4 separate regions of the Homo sapiens genome follow, and regions 2, 3 and 4 are each linked to region 1. Evidence: promoter capture Hi-C in 16 types of primary human blood cells and fetal thymus (Javierre and others, 2016). All regions are on one chromosome and are shown on one strand. The core of a region is centred on a gene start or on the middle of the fragment in contact, and the rest is flanking DNA. Distances in the headings are between cores, read along the strand shown. Region 1 holds the start of LYN (LYN proto-oncogene, Src family tyrosine kinase). Region 2 overlaps TGS1 (trimethylguanosine synthase 1). Region 3 overlaps TMEM68 (transmembrane protein 68). Region 4 overlaps LYN (LYN proto-oncogene, Src family tyrosine kinase).

Region 1 (5,741 bases), core at 797-3,296:
CCTGCCTCTGATCACTGCCTTCTGTGCTCAATTTAGAGAAAACTGGTGAGATAAATCAGTCATCAATCAATTAACCAATCAATCAATACTAATGAACTATTTTAAAGCACCCAACATAATTTCTGGGAGGTAGAGTGGGGAATAGATAAATATAAAAGGCAGTGCCTTCCCAAAAGGAGTTTACCAGTAGTTGAGGAGACAAGCCTAACATGGGCAAACAATGCTAAAAAGTACCTAGGTCTAGTTTAAAATAATGTTGCACACCATACATGCTACAGATGCTTTAAAAAGTTGCCTATCAATAGGAGCTTTAAATAAAACTTTCCTGAGAAATAGAACTTTCATGGGACATTAAGAAGGAAAGACAGATATGGAGAATGATTGAATGAAGTATTCAGCAAGTATAAATGCAGCCTAAGAAGTGGAAATTAGCATCGTATCGTTTTTTTCCAAATAAGAATGAAGAGATGAACTTAGTGAGGACAATTTTGTGAGGAGTTAGGGAGTTGGGGATCTGGTTGCAAGCTCAGGTAAGCCTGATGATGCTTTGTTCCTTACCCTGAGAGACATTTTACCAAAAACACTGACAGACATTCCTGATAGATTAACCAATACCAAACGTTTTTGAATCCTATTCTTATTTGCCACACACGTTTAGTCAGGATCTCAAGGATTCATCAGTAGCAGCAGAAACTTTAATGTAGGGTTAATATATTTGAGAGGTCATTCTTAAGAAAAGTCTAGGCAATAGGCCCTCAGGTAGTGAATTATTCTGTAGGATTCATTGTTTTTTGTTTCATTTTGTTTTGTTTTGTTCTTTTTTCATTTTTCTATTTTTCTCCATAGGATTCTTGATAGGTTTCAATCACACACCTTCCCATGGGTATTTCCATGGGCAACCCACCCCTTCTCTTCAGCAGTAAACTAACAACTACATACCAGTGAACATCACAGGTATAAACCACCTTTCTTCTTTTAAGGAATTAGTATGCAAACTTTAGTACTCTTTTCCTAGTAACAAATAACTGCTGTATCAGATTGTGTCACAAGGCAGCTGCTTTGACTTATTGCTCTGTAGCTGGGGTCAGCCTCTTCAGAACATTGTTAATGAGAGAAAGGAAGTGCTTTGGGCAGTGTCTGGCCCATCAGGCCCTCTGTAAATGTTTGCTATTAATGCAATGCTGAGATCCCAGTGAACAGAATCTGGCTTAGAAGAAGTGGGTATCCACGGTGCCCGAGCCTAATCTTACATCTTGGATTTGTAAGTGGCATTTATTGAGTTGAACATGAGCTTGAGCACGCGGTCACACATTCTTTCAGCAAACACTGGTTAGGCACCAGCTGCTACGTGCAAGCACTGCCCTACATGCTGGGACGCAGCTGTAGTAGGAATGAAATAACGCCAGCATTCCTGCATGCGGGCAGTGCGGGCCCTGTACAGAAAGGTACACGAGATAGGCATCCTCACATCCATTGTCCTGGGAGGAAACTGAGGCTTTGAGAAACGGAGAACTTGCCGGGCCATTTGACTCTACGTCATCCCCTCCCCCATCAATGCCCTGAACAGCCTCCTGTACACCCTTAAGGAACTTACTTTGTAATGATTATTAAGAACTCAGCGAGACCCCGAGCATCACCTCGGCATATCGCATCCTTTCTCTAGAGAACCCCTAATGTTGGAAGGGATCAGAGCGCACCTCCTCCGCTCCTGGGAGCACCCCCTTCCTAATAATACCTTGGGGATGGGTCGGAAGGAAAGGAAAGGAGACGCGAGAGGTGTAGTCGATGTGCCTGCGAAGCCCAGGCTCCTCTGGAGATCCTTCCGTCCGTCCCTACAGGAGAAGGCTGGCCCGGGCTGCTCCACTCCCCGGAGCTGCAGACTGAGTCGCCAGGTTTCTGTGCCTTCAAAGCCCTGCGCGACGGCCACACCAAACACCCAAACCTTGGGCAGGGACCAAACGGTCACTTCCCCGCCCTCCGGGCTCAATATGCAAATCCGAGCACCAGGAAGTAGCTGGGACCTCTCGGCCGAGCCCAGAGACAGCCAGTTCCTCTCCCGCCGCGCCGGGCCGCGCTGCCGCTCGCTCCCCGGCCGTGGCGCCTCCGGGCCAGACGCGCTGCAGCCTCCAGCCCGCGGCAAGCGGGGCGGCCGCGCCACCCCCGGCCCCGCGCCAGCAGCCCCTCGCCGCGCGTCCAGCGTTCCCGGCCAGCAGCCTCCCCATACGCAGGTCCTGCTGGGCCGCCCCGTCGCGCCCCCCACTCTGAACTCAAGTCACCGTGGAGCTCCGCCGCCCCGAAACTTTCACCGCGAGCGGGTGAGTCCTCTGCGCGAGCCCAGGGGTGGGCGCGGGCACGCGGGCAGTGGGTGCAGGGGCCGCGGCTGTGCCACCAGCCGGAGTCCCGGGCGCAGGGTAGACTCGGGGCCGGGGGCATCGGCGCGGCCCGCGGCGGCTTCCTGGCCGCACCGCCTCTGGGCTCCGGCGGCGAAGGCTCTTAGATGTCTTCAGCCGACGGGTGACCGGGCCCGGGGGAGCCAGGGCGCGGGGACTGAGGCTCCGCAGGTGTCCGCCGCGGAGCCGCGCAGGGGAGCGGTGGGAGGTGCGGGCGCGGGGGCGGGCTCACCGCGTGTCCTTCCCGGTGAGGGCCCGAGGGCCGGCTGCTGTCCCTGCTCCGGCCGCTTCTCGCACACAGTGGGGAAGCCGCTGCCCTTGCGGAGCGGGCGCGCGGCGGGGATACTGGAGAGGACTCCTCGGATTGTGCAATCTGATCTCCCCTCTGGACCCTGGGTCTCCTGGCAGTGGGAGATGGGGCTCGGCCGGCGCCCTCTCGAGGCCCGCGGACAGTTGCCCTCCCTGGTGGCCCCGGGCAGGAGCGTGACGTCGAGGGGCTGCAGCGGAGGCTGGAACTCACCCTCCCGCTGCGGCGCCTCTCGGCCTGCCGAGGAGCAGTCCGGTGCTTTTGCCGGCTGAGAGGAAGCGAGAGTTATTTTAAGAATTCAGGGGTTGCCTTTCCTTCGCCTTGGGGGAAGGGCGTAAGAGTCAGTTCCCACTTTCCTGCATTCTCTGGGCCCATGGTGGCATCTTTTGCTTGCGGTGCATTCGTAACTTTCCAACAGCCTGCCTGTCATGTGGATTAGCGGTTGTGTTTTTGTATATCCGAGTGTGTTAATTATCCCAAATTCGCCCTTCTTCGCCAGCTCAGAATCTAGGCCTTGCACTTTTCTGGCTGTATATTTAGGGGACCGATTATTGAAATTCCCTGTTTGAGTTTCTTCATCTTTGAGAGAGCATATATACCTCAGGGGCTGTTTAGTACACACAAAGCCCCTAGTACGTACCAAGCATTTCATAAACGATGTTACTGTTATTTATTGCAGTGAATTCTATTCATATAAATGAGGCTTCTTGGTTCTTTGCAGCTTGGTGATGTTGAAGCTAAGACTACCATGTCAGATTTAGCCATCTGACCTTATTAGTAAATCTGCTTAATAAATACATGAGGGATTTGCTGTCCCAAAGCAGGGCCCAGTAGTCTGACTTTCCCTAAAGAACTAGCCAATAAACTGGTGGGCTACAGGGATGTTTTCTCTGTACAGCCAACACCTAAAGCCATGCCCTGGGGAATAGGCACTGCAAGAACCCAGGCCTTACTAAGCCCTTCTCTGTAAGAGTAAGCTTTGTTGGGAAAGGGTGGGATCCAGTTAGTCCCTCCATTCTCATTTGGAGGTAAGCAGGTAAGCGCTTTGAGGCCTGAATAAATTTCACTGGATCATAGAGTCTTTGGTGACTGGGCCTCTTTGGATGTAAATGTGTGGCCCTTTTGCTGAGTGAAGGATAGAGGGCAGCAGATGTAAGGGGAGAGAAAGTAGGAGCCAGGAACCTTGAGTTTTGGCCTCTTCCATCATTTAATATGCTGTGATTTGGGATAAGCCACTTGGGCCATTTATTCAGCCAAGATTTCCTTTATAGCAGCAGCCAGAGTTATATTGATTTGTCTGCAGGTTGATAGTCTGTATTAACCATTACAGTGGAAGCTCCATGAAAACTGCTTCATCTGTCTTGTCCAAAATGATAGCCCCAGTGCCTGGTACATAGTAGGTGCTCAGTTCGAGATTACTTGGAAGAAGGAATGAAGGCCTCCTGTGAGCTTGCCCTATGCAAAACTGAGGACATAGGGAGATGAAGAAATAGAGCTGGTCCCTAAGGTGTTTGAAGCCTACTGGCCCTTTCTGTTGTGGTTTCTAAAACGGGGATTTGAGAGGCTTTGTTGACTGTAAAGTTACCCAGCACTGAGTTACCCACATTTAGTGTGGGTAACTAAATGAGAGTCTCCACTCAGCACCGCTCTTCTCTACTTATTACTGGAAGAGAGGTCCTGATGTGGGGTGGTTAAGATGTTTCCTGCAAAGGTAGTTGGCCCAATCCAGAAGACCTACATTATTTTAGAGTCATTGGTGTTACAAAGGTAGGTCGAAACTTTGTAATCCCGCCCCTGCCCTCCAATAGCTTTCTTTTAGCAGAAAAGTGGTCCAGCACTGTTCAATGACTTTGAAAGCCTTTTACTTCTATCTGCAATATTTGTTTTTAGATAAATCACCAAAAACATCTGAGATTCCAGTTGGTTCACATGACTATGTGGAGTTGTAACTTAACAAAATTAAATCATATTATTCATGTACAAACCCATACTAACTTTATAAATAAGGACACCATGTATACATGCCCACAGCAGGGAACATTGTTATAAGCTCACTCCTACTGATGATCTCAGTGATGCATGGATGAGTGTTAACATTGAAAGGCCACCACAATCATTAGTCAGGACATTGATCAATGTCACATTGATAGCAGAGATAGCCTCAGACCTTTACTGGCTCTTCCTAGTGATGATGGTGAAGGTGTTAGCACCTTTCATTTGTTCAGGGCTCTGAAGTCTTCCTGAACTCTAATTTCATTTGAACCTCTTGTGGCTCCTATAGGATGGAGAGGGACAGATACAGAAAAAGATTCAGGGGGTTGTCTAAGGTCACAGGCTTGGTTAAGCGGTACCATTAGGAGTAGTAGGTATGTTTTTTGGCTCTTTCTACTTGTCCACCTTTGGACTTGTAGTGTGTGCTCAATTACAAATGCCTCTCAACTTATGATGAGGCTGTGTCCCAATAAACCCAATCGTAAGTTGAAAATACTGAAAGTAGAAGATGCATTTAATACACTTAACCTACTAAACATTATAGATTAGCCTAACCTACCTTAAACATGGTCGAAACACTCACATTAGCCTACTGTTGGACAAAATCATCTGACACAAAGCCCATTTGATAATAAAGTGTTGAATAGCTCATGTAATTTATTGAATACTGTATTAAAAGTGAAAAATGAAATGGTTGTATGGGTACTTGAAGTACAGTTTTTATTGAATGCCTAATGCTTTTGCACCATCGTAAAGTTGAAAAATCATTAAGTTGCAGACCATCTGTGCTTAAAAGCAAATAAATAGGTCATTTAACAAACATTTTAAAAGTGAAATCATGAGTTAATTTTCTTTTATCACTTGGTAATTGTCTGAACTAAGTGGCTAACTGCTCAGGACATAGCAGATGCACCATCAAGCTGGGCACTTCAAGCTGTCTTCTAGAAATGAATTTCTGTGCTTTTTAGCACTGCTTTTTGCTTGGGGGTGGGAAAGGGTGGTCTCCAGTAACTGCTAAGATGACACCTATACTGGCTGCTGTCCGAGCAGCC
Region 2 (5,594 bases), core at 55-2,554, 94 kb before region 1:
TTTTCTCCACGTACCAGGGTTACATGGCCTGTTCTGTCTTCCTTCCATCCTCAGTATTTTGCACAGTGCCCAACATAGAGCAGATGCTCAATAAGAGTAAGTTAAATGGGCAGCTGGATGAATAGTGGCAGGCAGAGCCCAATAAGAAATTGATTCTTCCGTTGATTCTTCATTGGCTTTTTTTGTTACTACTCCATATTACTGTCAATTGGTGTTTTTTGTTTTTTGTTTTTTGTTTTTTTTTTGAGACAGAGTCTCGCTCTCTCACCCAGGCTGGGGTGCAGTGGCACAATCTTGGCTCACTGCAACCTCTGTCTCCCAGGTTCAAACAATTATCCTGCCTCAGCCTCCTGAGTAGCTGGAATTACAGCCTGGGCCCAGCTAATTTTTATATTTTTGGTAGAGACGGGTTTTCACCATGTTGGCCAGGCTGGTCTCAAACTCCTGACCTCAAGTGATCCGCCTGCCTCAGCCTCCGAAAGTGCTGGGATTACAGGTGTGAGCCACCGTGCCCAGCATACCGTCAATTGTTTTTTTGTTTGTTTGTTTTCTTTTTTCCTTTAAAAATTGTAACTTTGCAGGCCAGGCAAGGTGGCATGCAACTGTAATCCTAGCTGCTTGTGAGGCTGAGGCAAGAGGACTGACTGAGCCCGGGAGTTCAGAGCTTTTTAGTGCATTATGATCACACCTGCAGATAGCCCTTATACTCCAACCTGGGCAGTGTTGTGAGACCCCCATCTCTAAAAAATAAAAAAAATTGTAACATTTGCATACCTTTATTTTGGGCGGGTCACTCTGGATCTCAGGTTTTTTTAAATGAGAATAAGAAAACCTGCCTCTTAAGTTTTCCTTAAAACTAAGCTAATAAATGGTGTCTATAGGAGACCAGGCGACAGAAGAAGAGGAAGGTGGTTATTCCTGTGGTACTGCAGAATCACATGACAGCAAAGGCATAGGCCTGGATGAAAGTGAACTTGATTCTGAGGCTGAACTCATGAGAAGTATGGGATTGCCACTTCAATTTGGTAGGATAACTGCACATAAGGATTTTGAGGTAAATATTAATTTACTTTTATTATTTCTCTCTCTTCGTTTTCTTTATAAAATATCGCAAGGAATTACTTTTTATCAGATTATATGCATTCACGATCAGCGCTCTCTACCTCTTTTTAAATGTATGTATTTATAAATTAACCAGAACTGAAAGTTGTAATATGTCCCAAGTGTGACTGTTCCTCCTCTTGGAAACTTAGATAGTATATCACTTGTTTGTGGAGCTAAAAGCCCATAGTGGGGCTTTAGAGTATTTTGTTTAATTTAATGTCAAAATAGACTTGGATTCTACTTTCTTTTATAGTTCATAAAGTGCATTTTATATTCAAGTTATTTATCTGATATAGGTATCTATGAATACTAGAAATAAAGTTAAAATAAAAAAGAAAAAACATCAAAAGAAATACTTAGATGAAATTGTGCAAGAATCTTGGAGAAAAGAATATGAAGAAGACGACATTTTGGCTTCAGATGATCCATCTTCAATTGAACAGTATGAGAACACCAGAACATATGAACTTCAAAGCAAAAAAGATACTGAGACAGAAAATCCTCCAGTTGAAAACACATTATCTCCAAAGCTAGAAATTACAGAGAAATGGGAAAAGTATTGGAATGAATATGGAGGAGGACTATTGTGGCAAAGTTGGCAAGAAAAACATCCGGGTCAAGCACTATCTTCTGAACCTTGGAACTTTCCTGATACAAAGGAAGAATGGGAGCAACATTATAGTCAACTTTATTGGTATTATTTGGAACAATTTCAGTATTGGGAAGCTCAGGGTTGGACTTTTGATGCCTCGCAAAGCTGTGATACAGATACTTACACATCTAAAACAGAAGCTGATGACAAGAACGATGAAAAATGCATGAAAGTTGACTTAGTATCTTTTCCATCTTCACCTATTATGGTTGATAATGATAGCTCTGGTACAAGTGATAAGGATCATAGTGAAATACTTGATGGAATTAGTAACATAAAACTGAATTCAGAGGAAGTAACACAGAGCCAATTAGATTCCTGTACAAGTCATGATGGTCATCAACAGCTAAGTGAAGTTAGTAGCAAAAGAGAGTGCCCTGCTTCCGGCCAAAGTGAACCACGTAATGGAGGAACCAATGAGGAAAGCAACTCATCGGGGAATACAAACACAGACCCACCAGCTGAGGGTAAGATTAACCAAGATTTATTCTGCCATGTAATGGTTAGCAAAATGAATTCATTTAGCAAAATAACTACTAATCCTTTATTGTAGAGTTAAATAATACCAAGTACATTTCATATAATAATGAAATGATTTAATCCATCCTGTTTTCATATCACAAGTTATCCTTTTCTATTAATAAGAATATTTGCATGCAGTTCTCAAAAGTATCATTCCTTCTCTTGTACTTTGGTGGCTAATGAAGGAAAATGTGGAATCTCTTGAGAAATCTAATATAAAGTGAGCTTGGAACTTTTAGTTTTCCACAGCAAATGAATTTATAAGAGGCATGTTAGAAAGCAATTGAGAATGTACATTTGACATTAGGCAAATGTCTTATGAGTCATATGTGGAATTCACTTAGGACAAGTGAAGTCTTGCTGTGAAAAAAAGATCTCAATGGGGCACAATATTAATTTATAACTGGAATGGTTAATTTCAGGATTCTCATCAATAAAATATCCAGGATAAGGAACTTGATTGATTCCTGAATAACTGATCCAAAAAAAGCTAATTGTGCAAACTGGTGCCACTCAGGACTAGAGAATGCCAATGAGAAGTGTTTTGAAAGGAGTTAATCTGAGTACGGTGCGATGAGAATGTTTACTTTGCATTGCTGTAAAGGAATACCTGAGACTGAGGAATGTTTAAAGAAAAGAGGTTTATTTTGGCTCACAGTTTTGCAGGCTGTACAGGAAGCATAGTCTCAGCATCAACTCCTGGTGAGGGCCTCAGGAACCTTCCAATTATGGCAGAAGGTGAAAGGGGCATAGGCATGCCACATGGCAAGAGAGAGAGCAAGAGAGAGGGGGGAGGTCCCAGGCTCTTGTTAGCAATCAGATATTGCAGTAACTCATTACCATGGGGAGGCACCAAGCCATTCATGAAGGATCTGCCCCATGACCCAAACACTTCCCACCAGACCCCACTTCCAACATTAGGGATCACATTTAAACATGAGGTTTAGAGGGGACAAACATCCAAACCCTATCAGTGCTCTTGCTGGGGAGAGGCTTCTGCCAATTAACAGCACCAGGAAAATGGGAGAGGAGGAAATTTCTGTGACATCTGCATATCCTGAAGTTTTGGCATCCTGATGTTACATGCTGAAGACATCTAGTGTAGAGGAACTTTCTTCTCAGCCTTACTCTTTTGTGAAACAAATGGTTTTGACCTTTTACTTAACAATCAGATTTGCTTTGCTTATCTCAGATTGCTGATAATACTTCATCCAGCTGACAGTTTCTAAAGAGCTCTGTCAACTTGCTTTTTTTCTCTATATTCTTAGATTCTTATAAGTGGAGCCTACCTCAGTATAATATTCTCATTCCTTTCTATTTTGGTGATACATTTTCATCCTTTTTTTTTTTTTTTTTTTGAGATGGAGTCTCACTCTGTCACCCAAGCTGGAGTGCAGTGGCACTATCTCAGCTCACTGCAAGGTCCGCCTCCGGGGCTCAAGCAATTCTCCAGCCTCAGCCTCCCGAGTAGCTGGGACTACAGGTGTGTGCCACCACATACAGTTAATTTTTTTATTTTTTTATTTTTAGTAGATACGGGGTTTCACCGTGTTGGCCAGGCTGGTTTCAAACTCCTGACCTCAAGTGATCCTCCCGCCTCAGCCTCCCAAAGTGCATAGGCGTGAGCCACCATGCACAGCCATCCTTTTTTATCTGAAGATTTTATATTAGTATTCTGATACTCTTCTATACTCTCCTGATACCTTTCTGTACATATTTTGACCATAAAGTTTATAATATACATATTGGGCATTGTTTTGGCCTCTGACTTACAGTCTCATTTACCCTCTTTGGTTCTCCTCCCTCATCTGCCTGCTTTTTTCTTTGGCAGACACAGTAAGTCTCACAGTCTCTGCCTTCTGTTGCTTGTTCCCTTACTTACGTTTATAGATTGTCCATTTCTGTAATAACTCCAGTTTGTCTGCCATCAGGATGAATTTGAGGGTTTTAGATTTTGATTTGTTTTAGATCCTCCCTTGAGTTCAAAATTTAAGGTATAGGTTATGCTTCTATGTAAGTATGTTTTCTACTCTTTGTGGTTGGTGCTTTTCTGAAAGAGTCAAAGCTTCCCACTGTCTACCCTGCAGACATCTTTTTCCTCCTGGTCTCAGCCACCCACTTTCTTCCAGTCTGACAAAATAGAGAACAAAGACAGATTTGTGCCTCAGTTTTTGTCACCATAAGTTAAAGAACTCTTCTTAAAGATAGTATTGTCTTTGTTACTCTCATTATTAATGTTACTTTCATACTATATTAAAGGCAAATGAAGAGAAATTCTTCTTAATCAATGTGATTATGCCCCCTTTACGGTCATTTCAATTAAAATTCCATAAGAATGTGACTGCTAACAGCTATCACAAAGGCAGCTTTGTGGGTTAATTTGTATAGATTTGGGCAGCTATGAAGAAGTAGTTTTAGTTTGTTGTGTTTTTTTTTAAGTAGTTAGATCATGAACATTTTTAAACCTGTTAAAAAACTTTATACAAATTAAATTTAATAGAGTTTAACTGAGCAAAGAACGATTCTCGAATCAGGCAGCCCCAAGAGCCAGAATAGGTTCAGAGCAACTCCAGGGCTGCCACATGATTGGGATAACATTTATGGACAGAAAAAGAAAAATGATGTACAACGTACAGAAGGTGGAAGTGAGGTACACAAACAGCTGGATTGGTTACAGCCCAGCTTTTGCCTTACTTGAACACCATTTGAATAGTTGGCTGCCTGTGATTAGCCAAAACTGTGCTTGATACAAGAGTAGGTTACAGTCTTTTTATACCACCAGTTAGGTTACAGTTCACTACATGTGGAAAAACCTTTAAGCTGAGCTTAAAATGTATACATGGACAGTTTTAGGCTAAATTTAATTTAACAAACCTTATAGTTAAGATTTTTAAAATGCTCAGACTCTGCATGTAGACACAAACAGGTAGATGTGAGCTGGCACTTTGATGCACATGTACAGTTCATTGTAGAAAAGGTGCTAAAATATTTTCATTGGCTTTGCAAATAGCAGAAAAGTTGTCAAACCAAGGGGGAAAAGCTACTGCAATATTTCTGCCTCTTTAGATTCACAGAAGTCTTCAGGAGCAAACACAAGCAAAGACAGACCACATGCCAGTGGTACTGATGGAGATGAAAGTGAGGAAGACCCACCTGAGCATAAGCCAAGCAAACTGAAGAGGAGGTAAGTTACATGAGACCCCTCTCACCAGAGCGTGTTAGAGTAAGCATTTGTATGCATAAGCCAGTGGTTATTAAATGATTGTTATGTTCACAACACCAGTAATCATGTAAGAAGAGGCAGGATCTACTGGTA
Region 3 (6,200 bases), core at 1,193-3,692, 120 kb before region 1:
CTGTAAACTTTAAGTTCATTCACAAACATAAGACTTCATTTTTATGTATTTAAACAATTCTTTAGAAATTTCCTCATTCTATTCATGAAAAAAACAAACATGATTTTGTACAATCTTATTACATGTGGGGGAAAAACTTTAATCACAGATTTGAACTAGACTACAAGAAAATCTCTGTCCTGTAGAAGCGAGATCAGAGGCTCATGCCATCCCTGCCCCTTCCTTCCACACTGCAAGCCCTATTTTATGTCTCTGTAAACAGAAGAAAGGGTTTCAGTAGTGGGAGTAAATGACAGGATGAAAGGTGGTGGACCTGGAGAAGGGATGACATCTGGAAGCTTCCTGCTAACACAGCCTCAGTTCCAGGCTGGCTGTTTTTTCTCCTCCCTTAGCTAACATTACCTGCCTGCTGTTCTCTATATGGCTACCAAGGCCAACAAATTTACTTCTTACAGCAACGCTGTGCTGTTGGCAGTTAGTAGGGAATAGAAAAGACTTAAGTAAGATCCAACTATGCCTCAGAGGAAAATCACAGAAGTTGGGAAGTCAGGATATTCTAAGGAGTGAATAAAATGGTGATCATGGCACTAGCCATAAGATCCACATTCCCTTCCCATGTCACCACTGTCAGACACACCATTACAGACCACAGCCTCCACGGGTCCTGGCAAAAAGAAAAAAGTGAGCATCCAGAGATCAAGGGCAGAATCAGGCTCAAAGAAAAAGCGTGAAAAAGAAGGAAATCTAGAGTGGTTGTAATAGGAAAGGAAAGTAAGTTCTTAGGGCCATATTCCTCCACATAGAACAGCTGTCTCAAGAAAGGCTGCCACTTGTATAGAAGACAAAAGTAAAGTCCAGAATATGGAAATCTGAAAATATTAGTCTGTTTCTTTCCTTAAGTGTATTCCTGTCTGATCAGCTACGAAATAAACATTCAAAAAATAAAGACTTCAGTCTAAATTCCAGAGCAGAAAATACATTTCTAAAGTAGTTTATAAGGTCTTCACAAAACAGATTAAATTAAGTATGATAACTGTGATTCTAGTATGAAATAAGCTACTCAAATGGACTTGAGAATGTTTTGAAAAATAATTTAATGATATTCCAAGATTTTGTATGTTTCCATATTATATCATTTCTTTCCAATTACATAATTCTAACTCAAGTAATTCAATTTACTTTAAGCTCTACAAAACAGTCACTGAGTTTGAGGATCAACTGTCCCATCAAATACATTTTCTGAGCAATAAAGAAACTCCTTTGAAGGATTCTATACAGAATATTACCAAGGTTCTCTCTGGTTTTACAGAGTATTTTTTTAAATAATAAACAATTGAACTACTCACATAATACCAAACCACCTGGTTGAAAGCAGAAAAATCCAACTAATCAAATATTTAAAAAAAATAGTTTACTATAGTGCCAGTAAACCTTAAAACCTAGGGCTATTTAACTGTGTCACTCTTAGAGCAGATGTGATCATACTACTCCCTGCTGAGAAAGTATCAGTGCATTACCACTCTAGTCCAACATTTTCAAGCCCCTTGAGGCCCCAATTGCCTATAAAGTGACATTACATTATTTCATGTATCATATGAACTAACTGTGGCTCCCAGAGTACTTTTCCACCTTTGTGCTTCTGCTCACATGGTTGCTATTACTTGGAGCACTTCCAGTTCATGTTTCCCTGTCTAGCAGTAGAAATCTTACTGGACTTTAACTCCTCCTCCCTCAAGACTCTACACTCAGTCCCCAAGTTCTGTTTATTTTACCTCCAAGAGCTCTCTCAAATGTATACTCCCAGGTATCTGGGGTTGTAACCTGGCCCTATTCCTAGTATACCTTGGGCAAATAACAACCTCTCTGTGCCTCAGTTTCCTCATGAGTATAATCGGGGTACCACATAGACTCCATTATGTTAATGAGATTTAAAGCAGTTAATTTATATTAAGCAATTGACAGTGTCTGGCATAGGTAGGTGCTCAAAAAAAATTTGTAGGTTCGTTAAGTATGTATGTAGTATTAAAATGAAAATACATTAGTCTAATAAGCATGTCACTGGTGATTTCTGCTAATAGCAGCCTAATAGTTCAGTGATATATATCCTCAAGTGTCTTTTAAAGTCTGTGCTTCCTTCCATGTCCTTCTATGAAACCACTGTGATGCTCAACAACATAATACAGAAAGCCAATGTTTGTTACCTGCCTATTGAATCTTCAGTATTTTTGTGTAGTCTAAAAACAAAAGAGACCAACAAACTAGATATTGTTGGAATAATGAAGTAAAAGTTGGTAGAGTGAAACACTAACCACTTAAAAATAGGCCACCAGAAGGCAATTTTCATGATGGCCAAACAAAGAAGAACCACCAATCATTAAGTATACAACATCAAAATTTCTCGAGTAATAAAGAAAAGAATGACTATCCTGGAGAGAAATCTATTGCTATCTTATTTATTCAGAAAGACACACCAACCTCAGGAATGAATCAACAGAAAATGCATAAATTTTGGTATGCAAATTATATTTAATGTAATATTATTTAATATTTCATTTTTTTAAATCCACACTGGTAGAGTCAAACTTATTTTGAACAGAAGTAAATGCTAAATAATTGAAGCATTTTTAAAGCAGTTTTCTACAGCTTTATTTAGTCTCTTACTCTTTTAGATGTTTTAAATATAAATTTTCTTATTTCAACTTATAGTCTACAGTGCTGCGTGGTTCTTTGTTTAATGGAAACCAACGTCTATGGGAAAACTCATTTTAAGAAAGACACATACATATGCACAATGCATGCAAACAGGTAACAGGGAATAGTAAATATCACTTCTATTATATTTTTCAGTATCTTCTCAATCAATAAAATGGAATGGTAACACAGTTCCAATGCAGCACACATGAATGGCAACACAAAGGTGAAAGTATCCTTGCTTACCATGCCAAACGGCTGCATGTCCATCCCACAGAGTTGCCACTGTTTTCCTTGCACCATCCCATAAATTATGAGAGTAGGCTTCTTTCAATACATTCTTTCTCTTATAAATGTGTAAGAAAATAATAGTAAGGTAGAGAAGAAAGATAGTAAAGTAAGGAAGTATTAAAAGTATTAGTGGTGTAAAAACCCACAAGAGATAGTTTGCAAAATTCAAATAGTCCTCCAACTGCTCCACACCAAACCATTCTTCGAGTATGTGAATCAGACAAATCATATAGGGCACAGAATCCTGTCCTACACCACAGGTTTGATTTTTGTCTATCATTTTTCTTCAGGTGAAAATGACAAATTCAGTTTCTTTCTTCATTGCCATAGCAGGTCGCTAATTTTGACACTAGAAGGGAAAAATAATCCAGTATTATTTTCTCCACAGCTATAAAGTTAAATGTTTTACTCTACTTAAATAGCATATAGAGTCATTTCTTAATACCCAAAATGAGTAGATGGTTAATGGTTAACTTTGTTGCAGATTTAAATGTGAAAATTATAAGGTTTCATCTGTCTGCTCATGAAGTATGTCGTGTTTAGCTTTTGAAATAATTCACTATAATTGAGAGAAGAAAATAAAGCTATAATTAAGAGAAGAAAATAAAGCTGATGAGGAATATAATTTCAGATTGATTTTAATAATTTGACTCACATCTTAATTGGATCATGTTGAAAAATTAGATCTTAAACCAGGTCACATTGAGATAATTTTTTTTTCTTCTTTGAGATGGAGTCTCACCCTTTTGCTCGGGCTGGAGTACAGTGGCACGATCTCAGTCACTGAAACCTCTGCCTCCCAGGTTCAGGTAATCCTCCTGCCTCAGCATCCCGAGCAGCTGGGACTACAGGCATGTGCCACCATGCCTGGCTAATTTTTGTATTTTTAGTAGAGACAGGGTTTCACTATGTTGGCCAGGCTGGTCCCAAACTCCTGACCTCAAGTGGTCCACCCACCTCAGCCTCCCAAAGTGCTGAGATTACAGGCATCAGCCACCATGCCCAGCCATATTGAGATAACTCTGCACAAAAGAAAACATCAATATCTACCTAATTCAGTAAAAGTAACCCAATTCTTTACGAAATGATTACATACATTAATGGATATTGTTTTTTTATAGAGAAACAGATTTACAAAAGTTCATTATGCAATAAAAATTTATCAGTACTGTTTTTATCTTAAATCTTAAATGACTGAAAATATAGCTGTATAATTATTTTACAAATTCACTCTCTAAAACAGTCATTGGACTTACCAGAAGTTAGATAAATATCTTGTCCCAAACTTCAATGTCTCTATTCTGGAAAGCACAGTAAACAAATGTAAGAAATAAATTACTAAGAAAAAAAAAGATAATCATTAATACCTAGAGTTAGCATTTCTATAAAATAAACAGCAAGAGACATTCATAAATGTTTAAGAAATATGATTATAGGCCCACACTGGTATATTACAATTAAAAAGTACACTCATGCTACCATTGCTTTGGTGAAGACAACTCTACACTGTTTAGTGCCACTATATAGAGCCCCACCTAAGAATTTATTTTAAACAAAGTTTTCAAAAGCTTTGTTTCTTAGGAGAAAAAGTATGAAGATATATAACTGACTATGATTCTTTTTAGTAACTTTGCCAGATAACCTGAAGGTGAAACATAACATTCAATTATACAATTATATTAGCCCTATGATAATATTTTCCTACAAAAGATTTCCTTTCTCCATACTTTGATTGTATTCTTAGAACTATTTTATCATTATTCCATACTATATAATCTTACTGAAAATTATCTCAAGTCCTTTGTAGCTGAGGCAAAAAATGAATAAATGAAAGCAAAGGATGAAAGGAGAGGAGGAGATGTACATATAAGAAAAATGTATTGTTTTTATTCTAAGATTATCTTGCTAACTGGCTTATTAGGAGGGCAGGCACTGACTTGTTCTCCCAGGAATGAAACATTTCATCTAACTTCCTTGTAACCAATAGCATTTACTTGTGAGAAATCTGGTCTGTTATGGTTACAGGAGATGAACATAGCAAACATTGAGCCCACAACTTGGGCTTTATTTACATCATCATCTAATCAATCCATATAAAAAGTCAAATCACCAGCTGGGCGCAGTGGCTCACTCTTGTAATCCCAGCACTTTGGGAGGCCAAGGCAGGTGGATCACCTGAGGTCGGGGGTTTGAGACCAGCCTGACCAACATGGTGAAACTCCATCTCTACTAAAAATATAAAATTAGCTGGGAGTGGTGGTGCACGCCTGTAGTCCCAGCTACTCGGGAGGCTGAGGCAGGAGAAACGCTTGAACCTGGGAGGCGGAGGTTGCAGCGAGCCGAGATTGCACCATTGCACTCCAGCCTGGACAACAAGAGTGAAACTCCGTCTCAAAAAATAAAAATAAAAAAAGTCAAATCACTATAATTTACCCATGTTTGATCATTTAGAATGCAACATAGCAACCATCCATCAGAACTACTAAAAAGGTCTTCCTTATACTTAACTTCCCCGTAACTTTTCCCTACTGGACCTAGTTTTGTACCACAGACCCTCTTCCATTAAACAACCTTGTAAGTTTAAAAACAGCTGCCATGAGCCACAAAATTCCTTCTCCAGTCAGAATCCTTAATTCTTTCAACTACTTCTCAGCCCCTGGTTTCTTAAGCTTTCAGCACTCAAGACCACTCCGAGTTGCTGACTCCAGTTATCTGATACTGACAACACCATGTACGGTAACCCCTGTGCCTCCGTTTGCTAAAACCTATAAAACTAGGATAATAATCCTAACTACCTCATGAGATTACTGTGATTACATGGGCTAATCTGTGTAAAGAGCCTAGAATACCTTACATGTAATCAGTGTTACATGTTTGCTATCGCTATCATTCATAGAATCACAGCAGCTTTTTTGGTAACTCGATCATACTGACTCATTCAGCTAAAAATATGCTACTATTTTCTACATCTCTACAAACTACACTTGAAAAAAACCTTTTTGAGCCCAGCAAAGATTATACATCTCATCTGCTTATTAACTTTCATGAGGTGGGCTAAGACATAGCCTATCCTTTCAGTCTGTTTCGGGAACACAGTGGATGACATGAATGGGCTTAGGAGCCAGACTGAACATACTGGAATACTGGCTTTACAATCTTAAGCAAGTTACACCTCTCTGTGTCTCATTGTTTCTCTGAAAATGAAGATGATAAATCAT
Region 4 (5,563 bases), core at 1,791-4,290, 86 kb after region 1:
TTTCAAGATATACGATCATTTATCCATTTATTTCACCATTTACTGATGAAATTGGAGTTCATGTTAGTCCATTTTGCTTTGCTAAAGGAATACCCGAGACTGGGTAACTTATAAAGAAAATGTTTATTTGCTTTACGGTTCTTCAGATTTTATAAGAAGCATGGCACCTGTCTCTGCTTCTGGTGAAGCCTCAGGAAGCTTCCATTCAAAAAGGAAGGCAAAAGGGAGTGAGCATGTCACACAGTGAGAGCAAGAGAGTGACCAGAAGAGGTGCCATGCTTTTAGACAACCAGCTCTCTTGTGAACTAATAGAGCGAGAACTCACTCTTTACCACGGGGATGGCCCCAAGCCATTCATGAGGGATTCATTCCCATGACCCAAATACCTCCCTCTAGTCCCCACCTCCAACACTGGGGATCAAATTTCAACATGAGATTTGGAGAGGACAAACATCCAAACTATATCAGAGTTTTTCCCAGTTTGGGCTGCTATGAACAATGCGCTGCACATTTTTGTGCCTCATTTTTGTGCTGATGCAAGCATGCATGAGCTCTAGGGTGAGTGGGAGTGGATTTGCTGGATCGTAAGGTGTATGAATCTTCAGCTCTTCTAAGTTATTGCCAACTTATTTTGCAAAGTGCTGGTCCCAGCTTAAGATTCTCACCAGCAATATGCCAGTCCCCACGTCCCCTTTCCTGACTAGCAGAGCTGTACTTAGAGAGATGTGGGCCCCAAGGCAGCACAGGCAGTGGGTGGTTATCCGGAAGGAAGTGTGCACTCAGCATCCTTCATGGACACCTTGGATGTTGTCACAGAAGCTCTGCAATTGAATTTCAGTGATGCTCAGCAAAGAACACAGAATGAGGCCTAGGGCAGCTGCTCCAGAGTCCCTCCCAAGGGGCAGGTGCTCATCAGCACTTGATATTACCAGACTTTAAAAATTTTTGCTGAGCTCGGCAGTGGTTTCTCATGACTTTATTTGCATTTCTCTGGTTGCTAATAAGATTGAGTACTTTTCACGTGTTTATTACTCATATGAATTTCTTCTTTTGAAATGCCCTTCCAAGTCTTTGCCTATTTCTTCTGATTTTTCTTATTGATTTGTAAGAATTCTTTCTATATCCTGGATGCAAGTTCCTTGCAGTTATATGTATCATATAGTTTATGTATTTTCATCTATTTTATATCATGTATTTTCCTGCTGTGATTTGCTATGGATATGCTCATGTAACTTAGGGTTAGAGTTAGGGCTGGGGTTAAGGTTAGGGTTTATAAACGTTAAAAAATTTATAATAAAACCTTTTTGATTTAAATGTAATATTAAAAGGCTTTTGTTGGTGGAATGTACTTTACAATAACTCTTAAGATCTACAGAAAAGGCCATATTGCTTGTAATTATGCATTTAGATGTCAGAACAATTTAATATATTCATAATTCCATTATTTTAGGTAGGTGGTAGCTTTTTAAAAGGACCTAGGATGGTTTTTTTTTGTCAGCTTTATGTTACTATCTTCTCCATATGTTCTAACACTTATCTTGTACTGCATTTTTCTTTTTCTTTTCTTTTTTTGTTTTGTTTTAGAGAAGGGGGTCTCACTATATTGCCCAGGTTAGTCTTGAACTCCTGGGCTCAAGCGATCCTCCTGCCTCTCAAAGTGCTGGGATTACAGGCATGAACCACCTTGTCTAGCCTCATTTTTCTATAGAGCACTGCAAGCTCCTAAGTATTAACCAAAGTGGAATACAAAATAAAACATTTTAATAGAGGAATCAGTCTTAATGACCAAAAGAAACATCATTGGATAGGTTGACTGCTAGCTATAAATAAACTTTTTATTATTTGTTTGAAGGCTTGGAAATAGATGTATAATACATTTCTTTATTATTTAAAAAAATCATTTTTTAAAAAGTACATACTTGGCTGGGCACAGTGGCTCATGCCTACAATCCCAGCACTTTGGAAGACCAAGGTGAGCAGATCAGCTGAGGTCAGGAGTTCAAGACCAGCCTGGCCAACATGGCAAAACCCTGTCTCTCCTGGAAAAAAGAAAGAGAAGAGAAGAGAAAAGAAAAGAGTACATACTCATTGACAAATCCAATCAGAATAGAAAAGAACAAGAGAAAGTAGAAGTCACTCCAAATTCTACCAGCCAGGGATAATCACTGTTGTTTTACTCAGCAGGCTTCCAGTCATCTTTCTATGCTATTCACATACAGATACTCTTGCACCCTAAAAAGGGGACCGTCCACTCCACGTCACCTTTCCTTAGGTGGATAGGGCAGGTGCTATCCAGCTTTTGCGCACCAGGCAGCAGGAACTGCAGGAAGATTTGCAGTGACACCAGCAGCTATTACTCCCTTCTCCCCATTTTTTTTTTAACATTTCCAAGAGAAAGATGGAAGCAGAAGAGAGGACAGGAAGGAAGAGTATGATTATTAATATTTCTGCTTTGCCAAATTACTGAGAAAAGGCTTTCCCAAGAGAAAGTCAGGATTAAAGTGCTCAATCCCAGTCCCAGAAGGGTGGTGCCTCGGGGGAACTATACTAAGGAGTCAGTATTGCCCAGAGCGTGTTCCATGCGGTGTAAGAGGCTACTTGAACAAGTGTTCTGAGGTCAAGAAATTGTGGGAAACGCTGGGGTGAACAAATGCAGGCTTTTCCCCTGAAGGCCTCCCAGGGCACCTGCTGCATCTCCTGGGTGGGGGAGGAGTGGAGGGAGTGGCTCCCTGTCCTTTTAGTGGGGGATCCTTTTTCACTAACAGTCACCCAAGTCCAGTTGTCTGCAAATTTTGGGAAGTGCTTGTTTGACTCTAGCATATTGTACTTTAAAGTTAGTATATATAAGTAATTTTTATAAAGAACACCTTTTTTAAAGAAAATGTGGTAAATAGTTAAAGATATGGTGAACAAAATTAAAATCGCTCGTAATCACACCATTGGAAATAACCAGCATTTGATATATTTTGGTGTCTTTTCTTCCAGACTGTTGTTTATATGTGTGTGTCTGTGTATCTATAAAATATGTCTGTATTTTAAAATGGGGATTATAATGTGAGTGTATGCCTGTGTGTGTATGTATATGTATGTAAGGGATTATAGCATATATAGAGTTTTGTTTTGTTTTTTTTGGTCTTGAATAAAGAACATTTTATTATTAGAGAAAAATATTAGTCCTCGGCTGGGCACAGTGGCTCATGCTTATAATCCCAGCACTTTGGGAGGCTGAGGCTGGCGGATCACTTGAGGTTAGGAGTTTGAGACTAGCCTGGCCAACATGGTGGAACCACGTCTCTACTAAAAATACAAAAATTAGCCAGGTGTGGTGGTGGGCACCTGTAAACCCAGCTACTCAGGAGGCTCAGGCATAAGAATCGCTTGAAACCAGGAGGTGGAGGTTGCAGTGAGCCAAGATCGTGCCACTACACTCCAGCCTGGGCGACAGAGCAAGACGTAGTCTAAAAATAAATAAATAAATATTAGCCCTCATGGTAGAGTGCCAATAAAAACGTTTTTTTGCTACTATTTCATAGAAACCTTTTGATTTTTGAATAATTTAAACATTTTTTGGTAAAGAAAGAAAATTCCTAGATACTTTTCATCTAGCCTCCCCTAATTTTATCACTACATAGTGTTTTAACTCAGGCTTTTTCTATCTGTAATTAAATTTTTTGCTAACTCTGCATCTACAAAGTGAAGTTTTAATTTTTTTTTTTTTAATTGAGACGGAGTCGCACTCTGTCACCCAGGCTGGAATGCAATGGTGCGATCTCAGCTCACTGCAACCTCCACCTCCTGGGTTCAAGCAATTCTCCTGTCTCAGCATCCTGAGTAGCTGGGATTACAGGCGCCTGCCACCACACCCAGCTAATTTTTGTATTTTTAGTAGACATGGGGTTTCACTGTTTTAGCCAGGCTGGTTTCGAACTCCTGACATCAGGTGACCCACTCACCTCGACCTCCCAAAGTGCTGGGATTATAGGTGTGAGCCACCTCCCCCGGCTAGATTTTCTGTTTTATAAAGCATGCCCGCCTTCTTTTTTCTTCCTAGGTTACTATAACAACAGTACCAAGGTGGCTGTGAAAACCCTGAAGCCAGGAACTATGTCTGTGCAAGCCTTCCTGGAAGAAGCCAACCTCATGAAGACCCTGCAGCATGACAAGCTCGTGAGGCTCTACGCTGTGGTCACCAGGGAGGAGCCCATTTACATCATCACCGAGTACATGGCCAAGGGTGAGTTCCTCCCACTGCCCAGAGCTTGCAAGGGCTTCAAACTCAAAAAGTAAAATGTGTAAGTGTTCAGAGGTCACTCAACTAGTTTAATTATCAAACAGTATACCCACTACCGAAAAATCAGGAAATATGGGAAGACAAAGCAGTTTATAAACCTAATCACCAGAAGTAATCCATGTCACAGAATTGAAATCTAATCCTCCTGTTTTCTCTGCATCTGCCTGCGTGTACCTATTGCCCTGAGAATAGTACCCCATATCTAGTAGCCCCCAATAAATATTTATCAAATGAATTACTATGTATTTCAAAAAGGAATTTTTGAAATACATATGCTTAAAATGTGAAGAGTTCCCAGAATTCTAATACTACAGATTTAGTACGGATTGTTCAGTACCAAATTCCTCTTTCATTTTTTTTTTTTTTTTTTTTTTTTTGGAAACAGAGTCTCACACTGTTGCCCGGGCTGGAGTGCAGTGGTGCAATCTCTGCTCACTGCAACCCCTGCCTCCCGGGTTCAAGCGATTCTCCTGCCTCGGCCTCCCTAGTAGCTGGGACTACAGGCACGTGCCACCATGCCCAGCTAATTTTTTGTATTTTTAGTAGAGATGGGGTTTCGCCATGTTGGCCAGGCTGGTCTCGAACTCCTGAGCTCAGGCAATCTGCCTGCCTCAGCCTCTGAAAGTGCTAGGATTACAGGCATGAGCACCCAGCCTCTATTTGTTCTTTAGCGTTATCTAATATTCATTTTCCTTTTCAGCATTATCTAAGTGTTCAGGGTGTCACTTTTAAATATTAATGTTTTTTAAAACTTGTGGAGGTTAAAGTCCTATGTAATCATAGAATTGCTGGAGAATAGACTTCAAGCAATCAATTTTTCTTCTACTGTGATCACCTTCATATACAAGACTTTGAATCAACATCCTTCTTCCTTTGTTCACCTCCAGTTCAGGAAACATACTAATAAACTGCCAAATTATTTTTTACGAAGTCCTCAGAAGTAATGAAGAAACATAAGCAATGATCCAGGATTAACAATCATCTCATGCACAATGGAGATGATAGTATGATGTCATAGCTGAATAGATTCAAAAGATGAATATTACATTTTCTTATTTAATATCTGTGAGTATTTCAAAATATCAGTCACTCAGAGTCTTTCCAAACAATGGCATTGTTTGTTTTAAAGCAAACAAACCAATTAGCTCTTGTGGCTTGGGTTGCCATATATAGCCCAGAAACCAGGCTCAGGGCCAGACACCTTATAGGAGTTCAGTAAATATTGTTGAATTAATTAACTTAGAGTATTCCTAATGATAGGTATAAATATGA

The links. Contacts are between HindIII fragments. The CHiCAGO score rates a contact against its expected background, and 5 or more counts as called.
Region 2: a contact is called between a fragment that was not itself captured here and the fragment with the promoter of LYN in region 1, in 2 of 17 cell types (neutrophils and naive B cells). The highest score is 11.6, in neutrophils.
Region 3: a fragment that was not itself captured here is called in contact with the fragment with the promoter of LYN in region 1 in 1 of 17 cell types (neutrophils); the score reaches 10.1 in neutrophils.
Region 4: a contact is called between a fragment that was not itself captured here and the fragment with the promoter of LYN in region 1, in 7 of 17 cell types (neutrophils, total B cells, naive B cells and 4 more). The highest score is 20.3, in neutrophils.

Annotation. Positions count from the first base shown.
Region 1 is chr8:55,877,789-55,883,529 of GRCh38, forward strand. It overlaps LYN (LYN proto-oncogene, Src family tyrosine kinase), which reads left to right and starts at 2,047. Exons shown (of 13, transcript NM_002350.4): 1 at 2,047-2,315. RefSeq lists enhancers at 1,141-1,230, 1,791-1,850, 4,030-4,139 and silencers at 2,001-2,060, 2,081-2,250, 2,331-2,620, 2,651-2,830. The HindIII fragment of the contact is 13,046 bases long and covers 1-3,672 here.
Region 2 is chr8:55,784,838-55,790,431 of GRCh38, forward strand. It overlaps TGS1 (trimethylguanosine synthase 1), which reads left to right. Exons shown (of 13, transcript NM_024831.8): 3 at 882-1,054; 4 at 1,401-2,223; 5 at 5,345-5,462. Among named protein-coding and RNA genes, the nearest start is that of TGS1, 14 kb to the left of the region's middle. The HindIII fragment of the contact is 6,073 bases long and covers 1-4,341 here.
Region 3 is chr8:55,759,698-55,765,897 of GRCh38, forward strand. TMEM68 (transmembrane protein 68) reads right to left here. Exons shown (of 8, transcript NM_001286657.2): 2 at 4,239-4,283; 3 at 2,938-3,331. The coding sequence starts at 3,262. Among named protein-coding and RNA genes, the nearest start is that of TMEM68, 11 kb to the right of the region's middle. The HindIII fragment of the contact is 4,212 bases long and covers 337-4,548 here.
Region 4 is chr8:55,962,664-55,968,226 of GRCh38, forward strand. LYN (LYN proto-oncogene, Src family tyrosine kinase) reads left to right here. Exons shown (of 13, transcript NM_002350.4): 9 at 4,052-4,234. Among named protein-coding and RNA genes, the nearest start is that of SNORA1B, 63 kb to the left of the region's middle. The HindIII fragment of the contact is 5,688 bases long and covers 197-5,563 here.